Regions from separate parts of the Homo sapiens genome. Here regions 1 and 2 are each linked to region 3. Evidence: promoter capture Hi-C in 16 types of primary human blood cells and fetal thymus (Javierre and others, 2016). All regions are on one chromosome and are shown on one strand. The core of a region is centred on a gene start or on the middle of the fragment in contact, and the rest is flanking DNA. Distances in the headings are between cores, read along the strand shown. Region 1 overlaps TRAPPC3L (trafficking protein particle complex subunit 3L). Region 2 has its middle 16 kb from the start of DSE. Region 3 holds the start of CALHM6 (calcium homeostasis modulator family member 6).

Evidence for each region. Contacts are between HindIII fragments. The CHiCAGO score rates a contact against its expected background, and 5 or more counts as called.
Region 1: a contact is called between a fragment that was not itself captured here and the fragment with the promoter of CALHM6 in region 3, in 9 of 17 cell types (total B cells, naive B cells, monocytes and 6 more). The highest score is 25.8, in total B cells.
Region 2: a fragment that was not itself captured here is called in contact with the fragment with the promoter of CALHM6 in region 3 in 6 of 17 cell types (neutrophils, total B cells, monocytes and 3 more); the score reaches 13.3 in neutrophils.

What each region holds. Positions count from the first base shown.
Region 1 is chr6:116,522,321-116,526,851 of GRCh38, forward strand. The region is part of intron 3 of TRAPPC3L (trafficking protein particle complex subunit 3L); the gene reads right to left. It overlaps CALHM5 (calcium homeostasis modulator family member 5), which reads left to right. Exons shown (of 2, transcript NM_153711.5): 2 at 1-2,468. Among named protein-coding and RNA genes, the nearest start is that of CALHM5, 13 kb to the left of the region's middle. RefSeq lists a silencer at 4,512-4,531. The HindIII fragment of the contact is 5,494 bases long and covers 497-4,531 here.
Region 2 is chr6:116,352,440-116,356,729 of GRCh38, forward strand. It overlaps a transcript of DSE not described here. Among named protein-coding and RNA genes, the nearest start is that of DSE, 16 kb to the right of the region's middle. RefSeq lists an enhancer at 289-398. The HindIII fragment of the contact is 8,563 bases long and covers 1-4,290 here.
Region 3 is chr6:116,458,570-116,462,624 of GRCh38, forward strand. It overlaps CALHM6 (calcium homeostasis modulator family member 6), which reads left to right and starts at 2,806. Exons shown (of 3, transcript NM_001010919.3): 1 at 2,806-2,860; 2 at 3,303-3,885. The coding sequence starts at 3,361. CALHM6-AS1 (CALHM6 antisense RNA 1) reads right to left here. Exons shown (of 2, transcript NR_174951.1): 2 at 1,909-2,625. It also overlaps the pseudogene KRT18P22. RefSeq lists enhancers at 3,212-3,321, 3,332-3,411 and a silencer at 3,792-3,871. The HindIII fragment of the contact is 9,761 bases long and covers 1-4,055 here.

The DNA of each region.
Region 1 (4,531 bases), core at 1,994-4,493, 64 kb after region 3:
CTTAAATAAATGTTTGTGGCTTTAAGCCACTGAATTTTGGGGCAATATGAAGCGACAGAACCTGAACACTAACATGAAAATCAGAATTTATAAAAAGACAAAAATTACAGGCAAATTGTATTTATACATTTATACATTCTCCCTATGCATAGAGAGCATTTTCTTCAATCATGTTTTCTTTTTCTTTAGGTTCCAGTTAGCAGTATAGCATCTACAGCATGATTTGATAGATGCTGATAAGTAGGTCTCTAAAATCTCTCCACCAAAGCTGGAGATTCACTTTCAATTATTTTTGGTTAATTTTTGTTTGAAAGGAATACAAACATATTATTGGGAGGAGTAACACATTAAACTATTATTTGTCATTAATATCTACGAAAAAATAGCAAGTGAGGGTTTCAGACTAGGCTGGCCTTCAGTAAGCTGGAAAGAGATTGTTCTTCTAGTCGTCTCTCAAAATGTTATCTTCAGACTGTCAACATCAGTATCACGATGAAGCTTGTTAGAAATGCAGAATCAGACAGTATCTAAAACCTGTTGAGTCAAGCCTGCAGTTTAACGTGATCCTAGCTGATTCCAGTTCAAGCTAAATTTGATAACACTAAGGCAGTGGTTCTCAAACTTTAGTCCATATAAAAATCATCTGGAGGGCTTATTAAAATGTGGATTGCTGAACTCCACCCCCAGGGTGTCTGATTCAGTAGGTCTGGGGTGAGGCAAGATAATCTGCATTTCTAACAGGTTCTCAGGTGATACTGATGCTGCTGGTCTAGGGACTACATCTTGAAAATAACTGCTCTACAGCACAGAGCAGGCTATTCTGGGGAAGGCAGGCTGTAAGAAACTCAGAATCCTGGCCTGCACTCCAGATCTACTGAATCGGTCATCAGCCCGTCCAAGATTTTGGGGTGCCTTTCCATTCATTCAAGGATACCTTTCTATTCATTCAAGGATATATTTTGTCCTTTAGGAATATTTTAAAGTTTACTTCACATAAGTTTTACATGTTTCTTGTAAACTCTATTTGTAGGTGTTTTCTTTGTTCCTGTTGTAAATGGTTTCTTTTTTCCACTATATCTTTCTAAGTGATTGTTGTCTGAGTACGTGAAAAGCTATTGTCTTATGCTTATTAATTTTATCTCTCTACTAATTCTTTTATTGTTTGTAGGGCTTTTCAGAATTTGAAAGTAAACATTTTGCAACCTTTGATGACAAAATGGATCTAGACAATAAATAATGAATTCTAAACTATTAGGTGAAAGCAGAATGGGGTCAGACCTATGCAATTTGAAGCCACTCATCTATATTAGCATCACTAAAAATCAAAGCAGATGCTACGTGCCTTATGATGCAAGGCAAGAATAAGTACATAGTATCACATGTGAAATATTGTTTCCTAAGAAGCTAAACCTAATCAAGTATTTAGACATTACTGCTAGTTTATAGGAAACATAAGCAACAAAAAACAAGGCAATTAGCACCACAAAAAAACAACCAGGTACATCTAGATCTAACAGAACATTCCATTTTACAGATGACTCAGTCTCCCCACAGATTAACAGTATTAAGAAAGGAGAATAAAGGAGATATAAGTGACTTAATAACCAGATATGCTATATAGACCTTATTTGTATCCTGTTTCCAACAACCAACTGTAACAAGATATCTTTGAGATATTTAGGAAAATATGAATGAATATTAGATGATTTTTAGAGAATTATTAATTTTGCTATGTGTGGTAATGGTGTGCCGATTTATGTTTTTTAAAAAGTTCTTCAGTTAGAGATGTATATTTAAATATTTATGTGTGAACTGCCATGATGTCTAGAAGTTTCTTTAAAATACTCTAGAAAAAAGAGTTTAGGGAGAAAGCTGAAAGATGAAATAAGATTGGCAAAATATGGAAACTATTGAAGCTGGATGGTAGGTACACGGAATTCATTACATTATTCTCTTTACATTTGTATATGTTTGAAAAATTTCATAAGGTACACAACAAAATAAATGACATGGTCACCTCAGTTATTTTGCTGAAGTTTTGTCAATCACCCCCTGCTTAGCTGGAGTTTACCTTCTAGTATCATTCTCAGCAAAGGCTCACAGGAATGCTATTCTCTGAATTCTTACATATTCAGCCTGTTGGCCTGTTCTCGAATTGAAGGACAGCTTGTCTGGTTCATACTTTCTCTACATGAGTGTATTGTAAGCATTACTTCATTGTCTTTTGTCATTGAATATTGCTGAGGTGGCCACAGCCTGATTTCTGATGCCATCTCTATTTCTTTCTTTATTACTAACAAGATGTTTTATCCTATATTCTCATTGGTTTCTTTATCTTTCATGTCCAAAAATGTTAAATAGGCCTTCAGGTAGGTCTTTTTGGAACGATTTTTCCTGCTACAAGTTTACTCTTTCATTGTGGAGAATCATTTTCTTATATTTCAATAAAAAAGTTGGAAAATTTTCAACTTATTTTCCTTTCTGTGCTATATCATTTTCAAGAAACTATATTGTTTTGAATTTAAAACTAAACCACTCCTATATTCCTATTGGAATTTCATTAATTTAATTTAAAAAACTAAGTTAACTTGAAGTCTTGGCTCTTGTTTCATCTAAGTTTCACAAGCATACTGGGAGGCAGGTATTACCTTTTCTATGTTTATAAATAATGCTAGAGTCCAAAAAGGCTAAGGTGGTTATGCCACTGTTAAGTTATTGAACATCAATTTGGACCTACATGTGTCTAATCCTAATTTCCATCACACAAATTCTGCCTCATTTTAGTATATTCTTGAGTGTTCATATAACTTTTCAAAGTATGTTCCCTCATTTGTAAAATGAGGATGTTGAATTAGTACATCTCAAAGTCTCAACTCTGTTGTCCTAAATCTTACAGCCAGTGGTGTGTGAATTCCCAGCCAGTTGTATTCTTAATATCCTCTTGGGAATAGAGGTCTATCTCCAAGTTTCCTGGCCTCTGTCTGGGCCCCTGGATTCTTTCCCATCCTGAACAGCTTTTCACCTTGGGTTTCTAAATATTTAGGATAGTTATGCTCAAACTATGCTCCTACTGTATCAATGAAGTAAACTTTCCATTTTATTTTTTTAAAAATTTCCTTAGATAAAAATGACAATTGATATAGAAGGAATTTTTAGCAGTGGAAAGTTTATAAAAGATTTCAAATAGTCCCCAAACTTTAATTTTTATATATTTTAGAGTCCACCTTTCTGTCTGGCCAGCTATCTTTTTATAATTTTGGGTTTCCTGTACCTACAGCCACAACAATGCCAGAGAGAAATCTTCACAAGTTTTAAATTGCAATGAAAACTTGAGATTAAAATGGGAAAATGAATTAATTACTTCACCTAATCACATTCACTGGGCCATTTCAAGAAATAGGATTAAGTCAGCAAAGTAAGAACTCATGATATTAAGTAACTTTGCTTAAGAACAGTACCTTAAGATATATGCATTATTCGGCAGTTTATAACCTATAAAATGGTGACTAGTTGCATTGTAAAAACATTCTGTGCCTATATTTTATCATAAAGAGATGTGCTTCTGCAATCATAATAATTGCTGATGGTTTCAACAGAACACAATTATTTCTCCCAGGGGTTTTGTTGGTATTTGTGTCACGGAGGAAACATGAGGGATAGTAATCAGTGTTTTTAAAAGGGTTACTTCCTTAAACAGTTGGCTAACTATGAGTGGGTTTCACCGACCCTATGCATGAAGTCAAGCAATTAAAGAAATATATGCTTACAAACTGATCCATTTCCACCTTATTTTGAGAAATGTCCTCAAAAACACAGCCTCCTTCCCTACCTCTTTCCCTATAGACAAGTTTGTTGTCCCAACTAAAGGTGAGATGGACTTTGTTTCAATCAAAACTGTTCCACTTTGATCATATCTCTCTAGTGTTTTCCACTTTTTTTCCAAATGGATTTTTATTTTATTTGAAGCATGTAAAAGACATAAAAAGAGAGGTAACTAGGAGAAGAATTTGGATGGAGGGTCTGGAGGCGTGGCAGCCTTAACCTGCAGCCTCACTTCTATAGGAATCACCCTAGAGTTCCACAGAACAAAGTTAGGAAACTCTTGTTCTAAACAGTGGAGGCCAATTAGGATCACTTGGAGAGCATTTAAAAAGTTCTAATGCCTGTGCCTTATTCCCAGAGACCACAATTTATTGGGTCAAAAGTAAGTTCTGAAAGTCAGGATTTTTTGGAAAGCTCCAGGTGAGTCTATGCAGGAGCTAGAATTGATAACCCTTGCCCGGGAGTACCACTGAGAGGTCACGGCAAGTCTGAACAAAATCTTACTTCTGACACAAACTAAACATTACACCAGGCAGGGATGGCCTGGGATTTGGTGTTCCTGATGTGTCTCTGAATCCTTAGACCCAGACAGATCTTGCTTTAGAGTTTTGTTTCCCAGGGTATTTACTCCATGGTTTTTTTTCTTAATAAAGAATTTTATTGTAAATAGTTACATTAATAAATAGCAAAGCTATTGCTATTTTCAGTC
Region 2 (4,290 bases), core at 1,032-3,531, 110 kb before region 3:
GGTGCTGAATTTGCATAGGTTATTGATCCTAATTTCTAGACTCTGAATGGAGGCTAGTTGTGCTTGGAGCAGTGGTTCTCCAAGCATAAGGACTTAAAATCCACAGGGTTAGTGCTGGGTGAGGCAGAGGTCAGTAGCTCTTGAACTGGATAGTAAACATCAAGAAATTGAGAAATAAAAAACAGGAACTTTGGGATGCTTTTTAAAACCACCACAGCCTCAGATGTTTGTGTTGAAGGAGTAAGATGGCCAAGAAAAAAAAAATGTTAGGTCTGAGAGTTTACTCATTCCAATAACAGACCTGGCAGAGAAATCATTACCCATTTTGCAACACAGCCTTAGGGCAAGTCTGGGCAAGCTCTGGGTGGGCAAAAAATAGGCTTTCCAAAACTCACCTAGCTTTCCAGCCCACCCCACGTACATGCCCCACACGTGAAGTCTTCCTTTCTTTCCTCGTTTCTTTCTCCTTCCCCCCTCCTCCTTCCTCTCTCTCTTTCTCTCTTCCAGAATGAATGATTTGTATGACTGTGGAATGTGTTTGTCAGACAAGTCCATCAGGGACTTATAACAGTCCCTTAATAGGGTAAGAGAGAGATATGAGTCTTGTGGTCATAAGTGGTTGGGCTTCCCCACTACCTCATTCATTTATGTTAGCTAACTATTAAAATCTAGGTCTTTACTAATTTATAGTTAAAATATACATAGGAGTAAATGTGTGTTTGTGTGTGTGGGTCTGTGTGTGTATAAACACTGATGGATATTTTTCCAAATGAACTGATGATGACCTCTAACTTCTGGTTCATGAGAAGGAACTTTATGTCCTACTTTTGCTCTGGAAAAATGAAAAGACTGCTAAGGGGGAGTAGTCATGATGGAATTGTGCATGTGTGTGTTAGGTAATATTGGGTGGAAAATTAAGGGATATTTTCCTTTGTAGTATTCCAAATAAATCTGTTTATGTGATAGATAGTTACTTGGAATAAATATCTTTCTTCATGAGTGCCTTCTTAATTTCCAGAAAAATCTTATAAAGGTTTCTCAGTAAGGTTCTTTAAATAAACTTTGTTTCAATCATAATAATACTAGCTACCATTGAGCATTTACACTTCCTAGCATTGTGTCCAACACTTTACATTCTTTATCTCTCATCCTTATACTCTCAAAAGATGAGGCATTGATATTCCCAGAAAACTGAGATTTGGGGAGGCTAAGTAAATTTGCTTAAGGTTATGGAACAAATACATTGCACAGCTGTTACTTGATCATAGATCTGACTGTCTCCAACCATTGGACACTTACTGTTGTCACATAAGGGGATTCAGACAGATATCTAGCTTATTTTATAACTGTTCTCATTTGATGAGAGATTGTCTATAAAGATGTTTGGTTTTTGTGAGCTTTAATGGCTGATGTAAAACAATTTGGTAATTATTTTAAATTTAAAAAAATCTTATAATCAATCTAAACATACTCCTATGTCATATACTGAGACTCTTAGAAAATATTTTAGAGTAGAGGCAAGCAGTCTTCAGATACTGAATTATAATGCCTATCTACTTTTAAAGAGTGATATGACACCACTTTCAAAAATCTAGACTTCAGATGGCTTCCAAATGTACACCTATATCTACAGCAATACTTGGATATAGTATTTCCTGAAATATAGTCTTTCTCTTAAAGAAAAAAAGAATAATATTAGTTCAGGTCCTTGATATATGAGGCAAGGATTAGAGATTTGTTAAGTAAATGTTGACCCAGACTATATAACTCTAATGAGCAAAATCCCTTTAAAATTTTTAAGGAGATGGGATAACAGTAAGTAATATTTATTGAAAGCCTGTTGTGTGTTATGTGCTACTAGGAGCTTAGACAACATAACCTCATGTGGACCTTACAACTGCTCTGGAGGTCAGTCATTGTTCTTGAGTCGGGCTCTTTTTTCTGGTATAAGAAACAGAGTCACCCCCTCATGCTGTCTCAAAAGGCATGAGTTATTTTAAGGGAGAGTGGGTGGAGGGTTTGTACAGTAAGGGAACCAGGAAGCTCATGGAATTGTCATACAATCTGGCCTTACAAGCACTTCAGTTACAACTCTGTCAAAATGGGAAGGGGCTCAAGAAACTTGCTTTTCCCATCTAAGGAAAGGATGGTATTTTCTGGCTTTTGGTGAGGTGATTTATCTTCAGAATGGGTCTAATCTGAAAACAGACCCCACTGGGCAGAAACATGAAATCCATGTTCATAATTATGTAAATGAAATGAAAATTACTTGCATTCTTATAACATCTATATAAAAATTATAATTTTCTGTTTATTTTCCCACAGTTTTTCCTGTAATTATATTTTTTGGTTACATTACTTTTTATAATAAAATAGTGACATGTTTTACATTACTTTTTATAATAAAATAGTGACAGGTTTTATAATAAAATAGTGACAGGTTTTATAAAAAGCCAATCTGTAATTGGCTTTTTAATGAAATGTGCTTTCCATGGAAATACGCCAAATTTGACACTGGTGTCAATTTCACTGTACTCATTCACATATATAATACACACTACACATTTTTACATAGACACATACATATATAAAGGCACACATACCTATATGCGTAATTCATTTAAGCATTTTTATTATTGGACACTTGAGTTGTTTTCAGTATTTTGCTAATTTAAACAACACCATGTTGAACAACTTTGCATACATACAGTTTCACACATACGTGCATATATTCTAAGGAGTGGAATTGCTGGATGCAAATTTACATACCTTTTAAAGATTTGTTACATATTTGTCCTCCGAATCCTCTCTCAAAGTATTGTACCAATTTATACTTCCCCCAGCATTATATGAGACTCACAATTTCTGTGTACCTTCCTCAAACCTTCACATTCTTCTAATTTGAGCACTTCAGGTATGACCAGACTGTAGAGCCTCAGGTTACTGCTTATTTACCAATTGTTTTTCAGCTGATACTTTTAAGCCTTCTACTCCAATTAGGCCACAGACTCCTATTTCCTTTCCTTTTAGGATAATGCTGGCTAGGGCTCATTTAGCCTAATTTCTGTTTTGTGCCCTAGTAGAGTAGCTTCCTTTGTCCATGCTTAAATGATTTCAGAAGTCTAAAAGCGAATTTTCCAATACATATACCCGCTTCTTTCATGTCAGTAAAATAAAAGCATTATGGGACTGCTCAATTTGATATGTTATCTCAACTAATCTGTTAATACTAAATTGCAGACACTCAAAGGTGAGAATCAGTCCTAGGAAGATTGTGAGCAACCAGTCTACAATGCAAATACTAAGCAGGCTCAAAAGCAGATCTATAACTACAGCTGCAGCTCCATCAAGGCAACAAGTGGACACATCCTGGCAAAGTACAATCTGACCTCCTTTGTTTTACATTTGCTCATTGTTCTTTAACACATTTTAACTTGAAAAAGTTAAATAGCCTTCAATAACAAGACAATTACACTGTCATAGAATTAGTGTTGAAATCTTCCAGCTCACATACTAGACAAAACATAGTTCGCCCAATAACTATCTGGAGGATCCCTGAAGAGGATGCTAACCACATGACTATTGCTTCCCTTATTCAACCCACCCCTGAATGGCATGAAGGCTGTTAGCTCAGAGTGAAGAGGCTTTTAAACGCTGTCCTGTAGATTGGTATGGACAGGCTGCACTTCCGATTTATCTAGAGAGATATAAGACATGATCCATGGCCAAGGTAATGGGGTGGGCTCAGACATTTTTAAGTTCCTCCAGTAATTTTGGTAAATAGTTCTAGTTTTTGGAACTATGGCTCAGAGCATCAAAGAGAAATGTAGCTCCTGCTCCCATCCTGTGAACTTTACACAACTGCCTAAAGCTATGATATCTAATATGGTAGACAGTAGCCACTAGGCACATGTGGCTATTGGCCACTTGAAGTATGCATAGCTAGTCAAGATTTCAAAGACTTACACTAAAACCATAATGTTTTGGACATAGGGGGTTACATAAAAGTATTATAAGACCTAATTTCATCTTTTTAAAAACATATTTTAATGTGGCAATAAAGCATTTAAAGTTACATAAGTGGCTTACATTATATTTCTACTGGACAATTTTGATCTAGAAGGCATAGGTTCCATAGCTCAGGAACTTTGAGTCATAAAATTTTAAAGTTATAGGAATCTTGTAGATGAAACAATTATCTCACTTTGCGAATGACGAAACAGGTACCCCATTGGTAAAGTGACTTATTCTGGTAACCTGAGTTGTTGGTAGAGCCAGGGTATTCCCGAA
Region 3 (4,055 bases), core at 1,556-4,055:
GTTGGTGGAGAAGGTGGAGCAAGTGGTGAAGCTCATACTGTCCAGGGAGGAGAGCAAGAGGACAGGACTCAGGCTTTACCGATGACATTCTACTACTCATTTCTTAACAGCTGAAGCAAATCACAGGCTTTCAAAAGTGTAAAGACATTTAAAATATTATTTAGTCTACCTCTCCACACCATTAGGGTGTTAGTCAATTTCCACTAAGGGCTGAACTTCTGAGCAATATCCTCTCAGAACAGACCTGGGTATGGAGGGCTGGGAATCTTCAATAGACCCAGAGCTAGAACCAGTCAATCCAGTGGTGGTGGGAGTGGATGGCAGGGTACTAGACTCAAGACCAAGTGCTGGGGAAACATTCAGGCTGGCAGGCAAAACCTGGACTCTCAATTATAGAAACCTGTACTAAGTTCTGAATGATCATTGCATCTGGGAGAGTTGGGTTTGGGAGAGCACAGAAGTAGCAAACCCAGGAGGTGGTGTTTAGAGACACAAGCTGACAAGACAATATGTCAGGATGCAGCTCAGTCTGTGAAAGTTTCAGAGGCAGAATTGCAGACTACATATTCTGGTCTGTGAAGCACCTAAACCTGACCTTCCACTTGCAGCTTTGGCCTCATGATGTGCCAACTTGCCTGTCATTCTCAATGCTCCCATCACTCTAGCCTTCTTTCTAACCAAGCTCCTTTGTACTCCAGACTCATTCAGATTAAATGTCAGTTTCTCACAGAGGCTCTTTCAGGACACTCTCTAACTCCAATTTATCCTGTGCGTAATCTTTAGGACCCCTCCTCTCCATTTCCTATATCATCTCTACTGTAAGTTCAAAGACGGCAGGATACCTGTGTCTTCTTCCTTGTTGTATCCAGCAATACCAGGCACTTTTGATAGGTACTTGACATATTCTGAGTACTTATTAAACATTTAAATGAATGACTGAATGAACAAATGAACTAATTAATAACTGGTTAACAAATGAATTAATCTAGTTGGGGAAGGGGGCTGATAGATAAAAGTTTCTGTAAGTAAACATATTTCAAACAAATCCTTGACTAAATAACAGAAGCCAGGGAAGAGAAGGTGATGGACTTCATTAGAGTCTTAAAAAATGAAGGGAATGAAAACAGACCATAGGAATGAGGTGAAGGAGGAGATGGTGCTGATTAGATTGAGCCTCAGTGGATGATAAACTATTATAGCACAGTGGTAAAACCCTGGTATGGCTATCAGCAGGTAACCAGGAAAATGCCAGCCATCCCTCTTGGTTTGAGAGATGTGGGAGAATAAATTAATCTCACTCAAGAAGACAGAAGGATGCATTTTTATTAGGTTTCGGTTAGGGGAGATTTGGATAAAGCCATCTGCACAAAGGTTGTGGATATAGTGATGTTTCTGCATGATGGAATATGGGAAAGGGTGGACGAGAGAGGACACATCTTAGAGTATTATGGTAGAGGTGAAGAAGAGTCCAGCAGTAAGAGGAGAGTTACTCAAGGCACAGGGGAAGAAATTTATCTTGGGAGATGACAAATTACAAAGATAACAGTCAGAGCAGAAGTGATTCGCTTCAAACACGCAACTTTGCTGCAAGTTGACAGGAAGCCTAGCAGTATCTGGTCTAATCTCAGAGAAGAGGGCCCCAACTTTCCTGCATGACCATGAAGACCCTCATCTGGGGCTGGCCCCTAAACACATAGAAAAAAGATGTCTATTTACCACATCACTATGGAATGACAGCTTTTGGCACTACGCTAGGCACCCTGCTGGTGGTGTTGGAGAGGGAGTAGTTAAGAAGGCAAGTTGGACTAAGAAAAGAATAATACATTTCTTGTCCATTCTCTAAAAATTCACTTGGTTCCATGGGCTACCTATTCTTTCCAGATAAAATAAGGCAAGCCTGGTGGATGGGCACCAATAAGAACCATTTCATTGTGAACTGCCCACCCAAGCTCCATATCCAGATACTCTCCTTGTGGTGAAGCAGACAGCTAAGGTGTACACCAATTCTCTTAAGGTAGCAGAGTCATTGAGTCACTTAATACTATCCACTGAATTGATCCTCGTTTAAAATTCAAAATTCAGTATTCATCAAGATTCTTAGGTTATGTACAATGTAATTATTTGTTGTCTATTCCCCAAATTGCATTTTAAGGGGAAAACTCTCACACTGATCATTCATTTAACAGACATATCCTATATGTAAAGGCACTTTACATATGCTACTCAATCTACTCATGTCAGTAATCTTGAAAAGTGGGCACTATTATCCTTCTTTTACAAATAAGGATGCTGTGTCTCAGAGGGGCATACTTGTTAAACACACCACAGACAAGATGCACTTGACTTCAAAGCCCATGTTCTTTCAAGCACACCTCAGCTCAGTCTGGAGTCACACAGAGTAAGGCTCAATATCACAAAAGTGGTTACAGTGTTTGTGTCAGAACAACGCTGCTTGAGAAAACTGAAGGTGGAGGAAACAACATTAGATAGATGTAGCTGCAGTTTGAAATTTTGGGTTCAACTAGCATTCTTTGAATAATCATGTATCCCCTTCTGTGCAGATCAGCTTGGTGGTCAGAGTCAGAATTTTACTCTCCTCCAGGCATTGACAGTGTTATGACATATCTGAAAGAAAAGAACATTGTATTGACGAGTAAATCAATACAGTATATTTGGTCTAATGTCCTGAAGGAGATCAGGCAGAGGAGAGAAGAGTCAGTGTGAACTAGGCTGGTGGCTCTGTCCGGTAGGGAGATGGAAAGGGTGCCGCCCATCATAGAAGTACCAGAACTTGAGCTGGACTTTGCTGATTTAGCTTATGGAAGAGGAACCAGAAATTTGTCCTTGAATAATGTTTCCCGTAAGTAATCAGTTTTTTGATAATTATTTGGTTTTACTGTGATCTGGCTTAGTAACTAGGGTGGCTGCAATAGAGGAAAATCTGGTATTTCCCAGTTTTTCCAACTGGCGGCCGTGGGTCAAGAAGGTTAGTTTCCTGGTTCGTTGTCAGATTGGTGGTAATAAAGGAACAAGGTCAACCTTCTGTCAGAGTTCCTGAATTGGGGGAGGAAGATAACTGGTGCCTCTGCCTTTGGAATGGGGTGGGTGCCAGAGAAGTCAAGGTCCTGGGGGTGTTTGCTTGCCTGGTTCTGTTAACCAGAGGTGGTGTGGCTGAAATGAGAAAGTGAAACTTTAGGAAGGTCTGAGAAGCCCTCTTCCCTTTAAAAAAAAAAAAAAAAAGGCTGCTTCTCGCAGAGTGGAAAGCCCCGGTCCCCATCCCACCAAAACCATTTGACAAGCAGGACAACGAAGAGGCAGAAGGATCTGGGCCTGTGCGCGACGCCCCGGGGGACGAGGCTCATGGAGAAGTTTCGGGCGGTGCTGGACCTGCACGTCAAGCACCACAGCGCCTTGGGCTACGGCCTGGTGACCCTGCTGACGGCGGGCGGGGAGCGCATCTTCTCCGCCGTGGCATTCCAGTGCCCGTGCAGCGCCGCCTGGAACCTGCCCTACGGCCTGGTCTTCTTGCTGGTGCCGGCGCTCGCGCTCTTCCTCCTGGGCTACGTGCTGAGCGCACGCACGTGGCGCCTGCTCACCGGATGCTGCTCCAGCGCCCGCGCGAGTTGCGGATCGGCGCTGCGCGGCTCCCTGGTGTGCACGCAAATCAGCGCGGCCGCCGCGCTCGCGCCCCTCACCTGGGTGGCCGTGGCGCTGCTCGGGGGCGCCTTTTACGAGTGCGCGGCCACCGGGAGCGCGGCCTTCGCGCAGCGCCTGTGCCTCGGCCGCAACCGCAGCTGCGCCGCGGAGCTGCCGCTGGTGCCGTGCAACCAGGCCAAGGCGTCGGACGTGCAGGACCTCCTGAAGGATCTGAAGGCTCAGTCGCAGGTCTGCCGCTGGCGCTGGGGGCGTTTGGGAGGAGCCGAGAGGCCGAGCTTTCTCAGGGCCGCTGGGGTGAGGGAAAAATCGGTGACTTTTCTCCAGATATACAGTACCCTAAGAAAATCTAGAATGGCTCCTTGCATCTAATTTGCCGTCAAGAGAATATCTGAATAAAA